2 separate regions of the Homo sapiens genome follow, and region 2 is linked to region 1. The links are contacts of gene promoters, found by promoter capture Hi-C in human tissues and cell types (Jung and others, 2019). All regions are on one chromosome and are shown on one strand. The core of a region is centred on a gene start or on the middle of the fragment in contact, and the rest is flanking DNA. Distances in the headings are between cores, read along the strand shown.

Region 1 (5,245 bases), core at 2,299-4,798:
CTGGGTAATTTATAGAGAGAAAAGGTTTAATTGGCTGACAGTTCTGCAAGCTGTTAAAAAAAAGCATGGTGTCAGTGTCTGTTCAGCTCCTGGTGAAGCCCATGAGGCTTTCAATCATGGTGGAAGGCAAAGGGAGAGCTGGTGTGTCACATGGTGAGAGAGGGGTCAAGAGAGTGGAGGGGGAGGTCCCAAACTCTTAAACAACCAGATCCCCTGAGAGCTAACTGAGCAAGAACTCACGCATCACCAAAAGGATGGCACTAAGACATTCATGAGGGATCCACCCCATGATCCAATACCTCCCACTAGGCTCCACCTCCACCATTAGGGATCACATTTCAACATGAGATTTGGAGAGGAAAAACATCCAAACTATATCAAACCGGAAGTTGGAATGAACATACCGTACCCCTACAGTGGGCAAAACAGCCAGATCAGAAGGAACTCTCAGAGAAAGGGAGGAAAGAAAATCAGGAAAATATTAATTCTTTGCATTTGTTTTACAAAGCCATTGTATAGAACTTCGCAGTGTAAAAATGAGCACGTGCCCAACTCTCAACACATCTGATCCACAAAATCAAAACTAAATCCAGAAACCTTAGTGAGGCTGGCAGCATGGATGTTTTTCCCAGAGAGTGTGTATCCCAAGCCTTGTGATTACTGCCCCAAAGCACTTTCCTCTACATAGAGCTCACATGATAGGCCGAGACACCCCACAAATGGTGAGCCTTTTCCATGCCAGGTTAGGATTTGGTTTTTCTTCTGTGAGGAAAAGAAATAGACAATGTACTGAACTTAGAAAAAGGTGAAGAAAGAGTCTATCTGTTGGTGGCTTAACCAACAGATCATCTTGACAATGACCTTGGACAAGTCTGTAGACTGTGATTTTTAAAGAATGGTTTTTGAGTACTTGAGTACTTGGAAAAACCCTTGAAACATGGGTTCACACACACACAAAAAAACAGTTTAAGTAACTCATTTCCTTCTCTGACATGCGTACAATAGAAAACTGTAGATTGTAAGACACTTGCTTCAGATACCACTATGGAGAAAATGGACAATTATGGAATGGGTGATGCATTAGTCTGCGTTCAGTTTTAAAGCTGAAGATGATATTGGAACCCATGTAGCTCTGCTCCATCATTTTACAAATGAGAAAAAGGAGAGGAGCCATAAAGTGACTTGCTTAAGGTTACATCCTCTTCCTCTTTGACCTCCTCCTCCTCCCCATCATTTGCCTCAAATTAGATTACATGTATCGAGCATTTAGTATTTATCTGGCGTATTTCAAGTGCTTAACATGTATTGACTCATTTAATCCTCATGGTAACCCTATAAGGTAACTGAGGCTCAGGGAGATTTACTCATTTGCCAGTATCATGAGGCTGTAAGCAGCGGAACAGGGATTTGTACCCAGCAATGTTGGCTTGTGAGTTGGTGAGTTGGTGCTTTTACTATACATATAGCCTTTCAAGGCCATATAACTAGTGAGTAGCAGAGCAAAGTGTCTAAGGCACTAATGAATGGACTTTTTAGTGATATAAGATGTTGTCTTTGCTATGTCTATGTCAACATTTTTATCAATGAGTCGAATAAGATATGAAAAAGCAGTTCATCAGATTTTCAGAAGTCATGAAATAAGGGTATGAATAAGAAATATTTTGGACAACAGAAGCAGGATCCTAAAAGATTTGGGATGATGAATGAAGCCAAAAAGTTTTAACTTCAGAGGAATATAGGAAGCATTTCATGTAGGTCCCAAAACCAATTGCCCAAGGATGGGATGAAGAATATGCATAAGAGAACACAACTTAGGGGAGGTAGGGGTGGGGAGATTTTTATCGAGTTAGTTCTACATGAATTAACATGCAGAGCTGCCCACCTAATGCAAGTGAGCAAATGGTCCTCCTGTATTCTATATTACTTATGTCCACTGGACTCTCATCCCAGCAACAGTCAAGGCAGCTCTGGGCTCTCCAAAGCTCTTTACAGTGAAGGCCTGGATATTTCTTCCTCCTTTGTGACATGCTTTTGCTTTGATTCCCCATTTTGGCCTCCTCCTTTGTCATCATGACTTTGTTCCTGACTCTGGTCTTTTATTCTACGTTTTTGTTTTGGCTTCTCCTAGCATTTGAATCTTGATTTTTTACTCTGGGACCCTGATTTGACTTACCTCTCTGGCTCTCTATGTCTTATGCTGCATCAGGAGAAAATCTCTTATCTTTTTTCCAGCCCAACAGAGCTCAGCCCATGAAACGGACCTTCAATGGGTATGTTGACAGCACCCCATCACCGTGCCAACACATATACCATGAGGAAAAGGTTTGGACCATATCTGGAGTATTGCATCCAAGTCTGGCCAACCCCCTTCCTCACTGTGAGGGTATCTATGTAAACTGAAGTACATTATTAGAAAAAGGATAGGTTGGGAATAGACATGAACCCTTGGTGATACATAGAATTACTGAAAGAGCCAGAGATGCCTAGGGAAAGGGGGATTATGGGCACAGCAGATCAATCTCAGGATTTGCAGAGGATCCCACTGTGAAAGACTTTTTTGTCTTTCAGGCTTCTCTTGTGTGGCCCCTGGGAGCAGTCTAGCACCTGTGGGCAGAAGCTGTAGGGAAAAGGAGCAGATTTTATCTCTATAAGAAACTTTCTTGTGGTGAAAACTATCTAGAAATGGAATGAGAAAGTGGTGAGCTCCCCATTATTGGAGGTGTTCAAGTATAGGCTGAGCGGTGACTTGTCACGAAAACTGTATGACAGACCCAAACATCAACGGGGTGCTTAGATTCTTTGATCTCGGGTCAGTTCCACACAAGACAGGCTCTGTGTTAGTGAGGACCCAGTGGTGTTTTTGAACAGGCGGCAGGATAACAATGGTATATAAAATAAATGCAGAGAAAGACCTCCACATCAAGCCAACCCCTCCTCCCTACCTGTAAGTTTTCCACCTGAGTGAGCTCTGGCTCCAGCTGCACTTGTCAAACTCCCATTGTTAGAGCACAGATAAATGCTTCCGGCCACCCAAGCAGGAGAGGCCCACCTCAACTTAAGGGCTACTCTATTTTAGTTTTCCGTAGCTGGAGATTGAGTATCACGCTTTTCTAATCTTGTGCTTCTGAAAGGGCCCTGTTCTCTCTTGAACCCCACCCCCTCCTCCTTTCACAGATCAAATACCAAGTACATTGGACAGATAGAAGTTCGAATGAGAAAATGCATTTTAATAAAATCCCATTGATTTTTGTGGATGTAAGTCAAGGAACAGGCACCTAAAGAGTCTTCCATCCCCTGCCGTCTCCCGCCTCTCTCCTGACCTACACCGGGCGGTCATACATCGATTGGCTTCCTAGATAATAGATCGTGCCACCCGGTAGGGACCTCTGGGGACGCGCCGGGAGCTGGAAGAGTCGCACGCAGCAGCCCAACCCTGAGTTAATCAAACTAGCAACAGGATCTCAAGCAGCAGCGACGGCGGTGGCAAGAGTAGCGGTGACGGCGGCGGCGGCGGCGGCGGCAGCATTATGCGTGATTACTGACAGGCACCAGCTGCTGCCGCCACAGCCGTCTCAAACGCACTATGTGGACTCTCCGATCTAGAGGCAGATTCCTGACTAATCCCAGAGGGCTGGCCCAGCCTGTGCTCCCCGGGCTGCTAGGAAGCGATGACCACTCTTGTTAGCCCAAGTTGAAGAAAGCCGGGCTGTGCCTGGGAGCCGAGAGAGGCGGTAATATTTAGAAGCTGCACAGGAGAGGAACATGAACTGACGAGTAAACATGTATGGAAATTATTCTCACTTCATGAAGTTTCCCGCAGGCTATGGAGGTAAGTATCTCCCTTGGGCTTCACTGCGTGGACCTGTATGAGAGACTGAGAAGAAATTGGGAAATACGAATGACTGGATTAGTATTGAATTAAAAGGAGAACATATATGTTTATATGCATATATAGTGTGTATATAGCGTTTCAGCGTGTGTGTGCACGCGTGCATGAGAGAGGAGAGGAGGAAAGAATGGTCTGTAGGTGAGGATACGTTTGCATATCAGAATGAGGATACGGGGATATTCTAAGGAGAGAGTAAACCAACATGCTTGAGAATGTGTCTGAGACAAAGATAGAATAAGAGCATTGTTATAACCCAGTGTGTTTGTGCGGGTGTGAAAAGTGGAAGAGTTAACGGGGAATTACTATGATGTTCCTATTAGCCAACTTGTAATGAGAAAAAATGTGATTAAAAAGGTTTTGCCTATCTTGAGGGTTCCTGGGATACTTTGTAACAAGGGCATGATTGTTTTACTCAAAAGCAGATTTCCCTTTAATTGGATTTTTAAAAAGAAAACATAGTGCTTTAATTTGCTACTGTGTTTTCCTTCCCCTGTTTTCTTTCCTTTGATTTGCTAATAGCCTCTTCTCTCCTCCCCTGCTGCTGCCCCCAATTCTACTGCAAGAGTTGCTGCAATCACTTCCACTCTGGGGGTAGAGATCTGGGGATGGGGGGTTGGGGCTCTTAGAGAATTGGCAAACTGAAGATTCAAGTCACCGTGCCAGGCAGGGCAGCCCAGTCACACTTCACAGAAGCTTCCGGAGACTAGGTCCTCAGGCTGCCTTAACGCCCAAGCACATCCGTCCCAAGGATCCCTTGATTTAGTGACAGAAACAGTACAGCCGCCCAGCTCTGAGTAAATGGAAGCAACAGCTGACCAACTGGCCTGTCGCTTGTCAGTTGGAGGCATGCAGCTTATGTTGCTGGGAGCCAAAGAAAGATTCTGGCAGGCAAGACAGCAGAAATTCTTATAAGGTTTTGAAAATTGAAAAGTCCCTGCTCTCCAGACTTCCTCCGTGGACCAATTCATCTGAAGGCTTGGGACTAAAGCTTGCCTAACTTGGCTGGGCAGAACCCCCTGGGAGGCATGGTGACACACTGCAAGGTAGAAGTGATCTCTGTCACCAGGAGGTGTTAGACCTGGGAGTTTGCACATTCATTCAGGGTAGTTTTTATGAGGCAGGCATGGTGTTGGGCACTGGGAATACAAATATGAATGAGACACAGTCTCTGCCCTTTGGGACTGGGGCAGGCTTGTTACACAGGCACATTATAATACTGCATGATGTGTGTAATAGCAAACGTAGGTTGTACTTGGACTTGGGGTGAGGGCCATGGAAATGTTCCCGAGGTGATGTTCAAGTTCTTTGGGCCAGTCTGATGACAGAGTGAGAGCGGTGGCCAATGCTGTGACCTGG
Region 2 (5,338 bases), core at 95-2,594, 37 kb before region 1:
CTAATATAGTGTCTGGCAGGTGGGAAAACTCAAATGTTAGTATCTTGTAGTAATGGTCTGAGGTCAGGTTGTGATGTAGGAATGAAACAGCAGTGATTTAGCTGGCATGTGTTGAGGCCCTCCCGGGACACCACATTCAAATTGTATGGGAGCTCTTTCCCCAGTGTTTTGTCTGCTAGGGTTGCCATGATAAAGTTTCACAATGGGCAGCTTAAACATGAGAAATCAATTTTCTCACAGTTCTGGAGGCTGGGAGTCCAAGCTCAAGGTACCAGCAAGGTTGATTTCCTCTGTGGCATCTCTGCTTGGCTTACAGATGGCAGTCCTCTTGCTGCCTCTGCATGGGGTCCTCTCTCTGTGCACTCTTGTTCCTCGTGCCTCTTTTTGTGTCCTCATCTCTTCTTTTTATAAGGACACCAGTCACATTGGATTAGGGCCCACCCCAACAGCCTCATTTGAGCTTCATCACCTCTTTAAAGGCCCTATCTCTATAGTCACATTCCGAGGTACTGGGGTTTAAGATTCAATATAGGAATTTAGGCAGGGGGATACAAATCAGTCTATAAGAAGACCCAGGAACTCACTGAGACTACACGAGGAGCTTAAATCACAGGGCTGTGTGGTTTTGCAGTGCAGCCCCGTTTGTAATGTATGAAATTCTATGCTCAAAGCTAGTCTTCTTCCTTCCCCCCAACTTCCTCTTCTTTTCCTGGTAGGAAGACTCAAGCGAACATCTCCATTTTGACAAGTATATATTTCTTCTTTCTTTGCAGGGATTCTTCACCCATGGTTGCTTAGGTTTATAAGCAAGGAAGCTGAATGAAGTCCCTTTCCTCTCTGGATGAGCCCCTGGGTTTCTGGAAGAGTCTTAAAATCACCCCTAAATGGCTTCCAAGCACTGAAGCCCGAGATGTTAGCTGGCCTGTGTGAGGCCTTGAGACAGAATGCCACAGCCACACCCCAAGGATGCTGAAGGGGATTTCCCTCCTCTGTGGTTTTTCTCCTTTCTTCCCGCAGCACTCCTCCTACGTGGTGAGTCATCCAGAACTCCAAACACACAGCCAGCTGTTTGGAACACAAGAAATAACCATAGCCAGAGGCATCTTGGGCCCAAACTCTTCTCTCTTTTATTGCTCATTTCCCAAGTCACTTCCTTTCCCCTCCCCTACTTTCCCTCCCCGTTCTTCTTAGGACTTAACACAGGTGTCTGGAGACATTGGGTCTTTGTCAGTCAATGTCAGACCTCTTCTAACATTGATATTTATCAAAGTAACGGTTACATCATAGCCCTCTTTCATATACTCGGAGTATTGTTCCTTCCTTCCCTACCTTCCTTCCTTCCCTTCCTTCCTTCCTTCCTTCTTTCTTTCTTTCTCTCTCTCTTTCTTTTCTTTCTTTTTTTCTTTTCTTTTCTTTCTCTCTCTTTCTTTCTTTCTTTCCTTTCTTTCCCTTCCTTCCTTGCTTCCTTCTTTCCTTCTTTCCTTCCTTCCTCCCTCCCTCCCTCCCCTGTCTCCCCTCCCTCCCTTCTTCCCTTCCTTCCTTCCTTCCTCCCTCCCTCCCTCCTGTCTCTCTTTCTCTCCTTCTCTTCTTTCTCTCTCTCTTTCTCTTTCTTTCTTTCTCTCTCTTTCCTTTCCTTCTTTCCTTCCTTCCTTCCTTCCTTCCTTCCTTCCTTCCTTCCTTCCTCTCTCTCTTTCTTTCTTTCTTTCTTTCTTTTTTCTTTCTTTCTCCTCACTCTGTCACCCAGGCTGGAGTGCAGCTGGAGTGCAGCTGGAGGGATCCCAGCTCACTGCAACCTCTGCCTTCCCAGTTCAAGCGATTCTCCTGCCTCAGGCTCCAGAGTAGCTGGGATTACAGGATTGTGCCACCACACCTGGCTAACTTTTTGTATTTTTTAGTAGAAACAGGTTTTCGCCATGTTGCCCAGGCTGGTCTCAAACTCCTGGGCTCAGGCAATCCACCGGCCATGGCCTCCCAAAGTGCTGGAATTACAGGTGTGAGCCACTGCGCCGGCCTGCGTTTGTTTCTTAAGGTGTGATCACTTTCCTTGTTGAATCTAGAGTATTAGCTAATATCTAGAATGTTAGCTTCTCATGAACAGGGATCATACTGTATCCTCCATGGCCAATGCTTTACACATAGTCATGCTCAAACACTTTTTGAAGAAAGCAATGAAACTTTTAAGAAAAATATTATTCTCTGAGAGGTATAGGCTTGCAGTTAGCTTTACAGAAACTTGAGGAGTCCGCTGAGTTATGTAAACCTGGAGTCACAGTGTGCCACTAGTACAGGTGTTGCCAGTTACTCTGGTGATACCATTTCAGACACTAAGCTTAGCCACAGGTGTGGTTTATTTTAAAATATACATATAACTTCTTTTGATACTAAAATGTAAAGCAGATAATCACATAAATTCATTTTTATAGACATAAATGCTTAGGTAAGATATACCACCACATTAACTAGATATGATTTTATCATGTTTATTTGTTGTGGCACATGTGCACCATGGAATACTATGCAGCCATAAAAAGGATGAGTGCACATCCTTTGCAGGGACATAGATGAAGCTGGAAACCATCACTCTCAGCAAACTAACACAGGAACAGAAAACCAAACATTGCATGTTCTCACTCATAAGTGGGAGTTGAACAATGAGGACACATGGACACAGGGAGGGGAAAAACACACACTGGGGCCTGTTGAGGGGTGAAGGGCTAGGGGAGGGACAGTATTAGGAGAAATACCTAATGTAGATGACGAGTTGATGGGTGCAGCAAACCACCATGGCACGTGTATACCTATGTAACAAACCTGCACGTTCTGCATATGTATCCCAGAACTTAGTATAATTAAAAAAAAATAAAATAAAATAAATTGTGACAAAAATAGATTGGTATATAATATAGTTACCTATTGACTCTCACTTTCATTTCTACAGAAAGAATAGGTTAATTCTGATATGTAATAAAAATCATCCATATGAACCTTAAAATATATATAAATATATTATATATTTAATATATAAAAATATATATTTATATATATATATTTTTTTCCTTCTTGTGGCTTCAAAGTTAGAAATACCCTCTTAGATACTTGCTCTGATATTAAAATCCCTGAAGTTTCACTGAAGTTAATGCCTTCAAGCTTTAAAGAGCAAGTTTAAGAACTTCAAGCTCTTAAACAGGTGGGGGCAGTGGGCTCTGACCCCATCCTAACCTTGCTGGCTCTCTTTCTCTCCTCTCTCTGCCATCAGAGGAAGAGGAAGGCAATGAGGAGATCAAATGGATCTCAGTTTTTCATCTCTGACCTTTCCTGCACTCCTTTCTGCTTAGCAGAAATAAAGATGGGGTACACATGTGAAACTTGTACTTATTCATTCAACAAATATTTAATATGAACCTACTGTGTGCCAGACATTTTGCCAGGTTCAGGCACTACAGAGATGAGAAAGTCACAATCCTAGCCTGCAAGGAGCTCATAGTCTACTGGGGAGTAGAAATGCAACTGAATCATTCTTATAGACTGAGATATTGGAAATATGTATAAAGGACTATGAGAGTACTGAGAAGGGGTTTGCCTCTTAGTCCAGGGTTTCTGTAGATCAGAGGTTCTCCAAATGAGGTCTCCAGACCAGCAGCATCACCTGGGAACATGTTAGAAATGCAAATTACTTGGCTCCAGCCTAGACCTATTGAATGCGAAGCTCTGAGGTTGGGCCCAGCAGTCCTCATTTTAACCAGCCCTCTGGGGATTCTGATGTTCACTCAAGTTTAAGAAACTCTGCCCAACCCTAAAGGATTTTTACAGTTGAAATCAAGTTAAAATGAACACTAGTAGAAGATTAAGGAGAATAAAGGCAAACAGAAATGGATAGACTGATAACAAGTTACAAATAAACAAGATGGGAAAGCTAGACTCAATCTTGTGCTGCTGAGTCAGAGTCAGAGGTATAAACTCATACTGATTTTAGTATATGTAGGCAGATAGATATAGGACATATAGATATGTGTATATGGGCTGGGCACGGTGGCTTATGCCTGTAATCCCAGGACTTTGGGAGGCCGAGGCAGGTGGATCATGAGGTCAGGAGATCGAGACCATCCTGGCCAACATGGTGAAACCTCATCTCTACTAAAAATACAAAAATTAGCCGGGTGTGGTGGCAGGTGCCTGTAGTCCCAGCTACTTGGGAGGCTGAGGCAGGAGAATCGCTTGAACCCGGGAGGTGGAAGTTGCAGTGAGCTGAGATTGTGCCACCGCACTCCAGCCTGGTGACAGAGCAAGACACCGTCTCAAAAAAAAAAAAAAAAAAAAAGATATGTGTATATGTAGGTTAGTACACATGAATATATTTCCTACCTCTGTCTGCTGAGAGGTCCTAAATGCAGTGATACCCCAGCAGCAATAAGCATGCCTAGAAGCCAGATTTTGGTTTCTAATTATTGTTCTCTGATAAAAGAAACTTAGGGTCCTTTGGAGAAATGGCAGATTCTAGGGGGAGCAGGAATACAAGATAAGCCTGGAGCATCTTATAGTTTTAGAACCCCTAAGGAAAGCAAAGAAGTTCTAAGGAAACAAAAAATTAAGGTACATCAAAAGGACACAGAAGCCAACCTGAAGGAGTTCCCAATGGCCAGAGCTGGAAGAATTAAAAAAAAAGAAATTTTAAATGTTATTTCAGTAGTTTTAGGGGTACAGGTGGTTTTTAGTTACATGGATAAGTTCTTTAGTGGTGATTTCTGAGATGTTAGTGCACTCATCATCCAAGCAATGTGTGCACTGTCTCTTACCCCCTCTCAACCTTCCCCCACAAGTCCCCCAAATCCATTATATCATTCTTAGGCCTTTGCATCCTCATAGCTTAGCTCCCAATTATAAGTGAGGACATACGAAATTTGGTTTTTCATTCTTGAGTTACTTCACTTAGAATAGTTGCTGCAACACATTACTTCATTCCTTTTTATGGCTGAGTAGTATTCCATGGTGTATACATACCACATTTTCTTTATTCATTCATTGGTTGATGGGTACTTAGGTTGGTTCCAGATCTTTGCAATTGTGAATTGTGCTGCTTTAAACATGCACATGCGTGTGTCTTTTTCACATAATGACTTACTTTCCTTTGGGTAGAAACCCAGTAGCAGGATTCCTTAATTGAATGGTAGTTCTACTTTTAGTTCTTTATGTAATCTTTTAGTTCTTTAAGGAATCTCCATACTGTGTTCTATAGTAGTTGTACTAATTTATATCTAGATTACACCTAATTACACCACCTAGAGCATGAAGAATTTAAGCAATAAAATAAATGATGATAGGCTTGTATTATAACAACAAC

The links. Contacts are between HindIII fragments. The study calls those that stand out against the background at their distance.
Region 2: a fragment that was not itself captured here is called in contact with the fragment with the promoter of RXRG in region 1 in 1 of the 25 tissues and cell types used here (liver).

Annotation. Positions count from the first base shown.
Region 1 is chr1:165,443,429-165,448,673 of GRCh38, reverse strand. RXRG (retinoid X receptor gamma) reads left to right here and starts at 3,548. Exons shown (of 10, transcript NM_006917.5): 1 at 3,548-3,829. The coding sequence starts at 3,781. The HindIII fragment of the contact is 18,328 bases long and covers 1-5,245 here.
Region 2 is chr1:165,478,043-165,483,380 of GRCh38, reverse strand. It overlaps LRRC52-AS1 (LRRC52 antisense RNA 1), which reads left to right. Exons shown (of 7, transcript NR_026744.2): 6 at 774-1,032. Among named protein-coding and RNA genes, the nearest start is that of RXRG, 36 kb to the right of the region's middle. The HindIII fragment of the contact is 7,158 bases long and covers 1-4,923 here.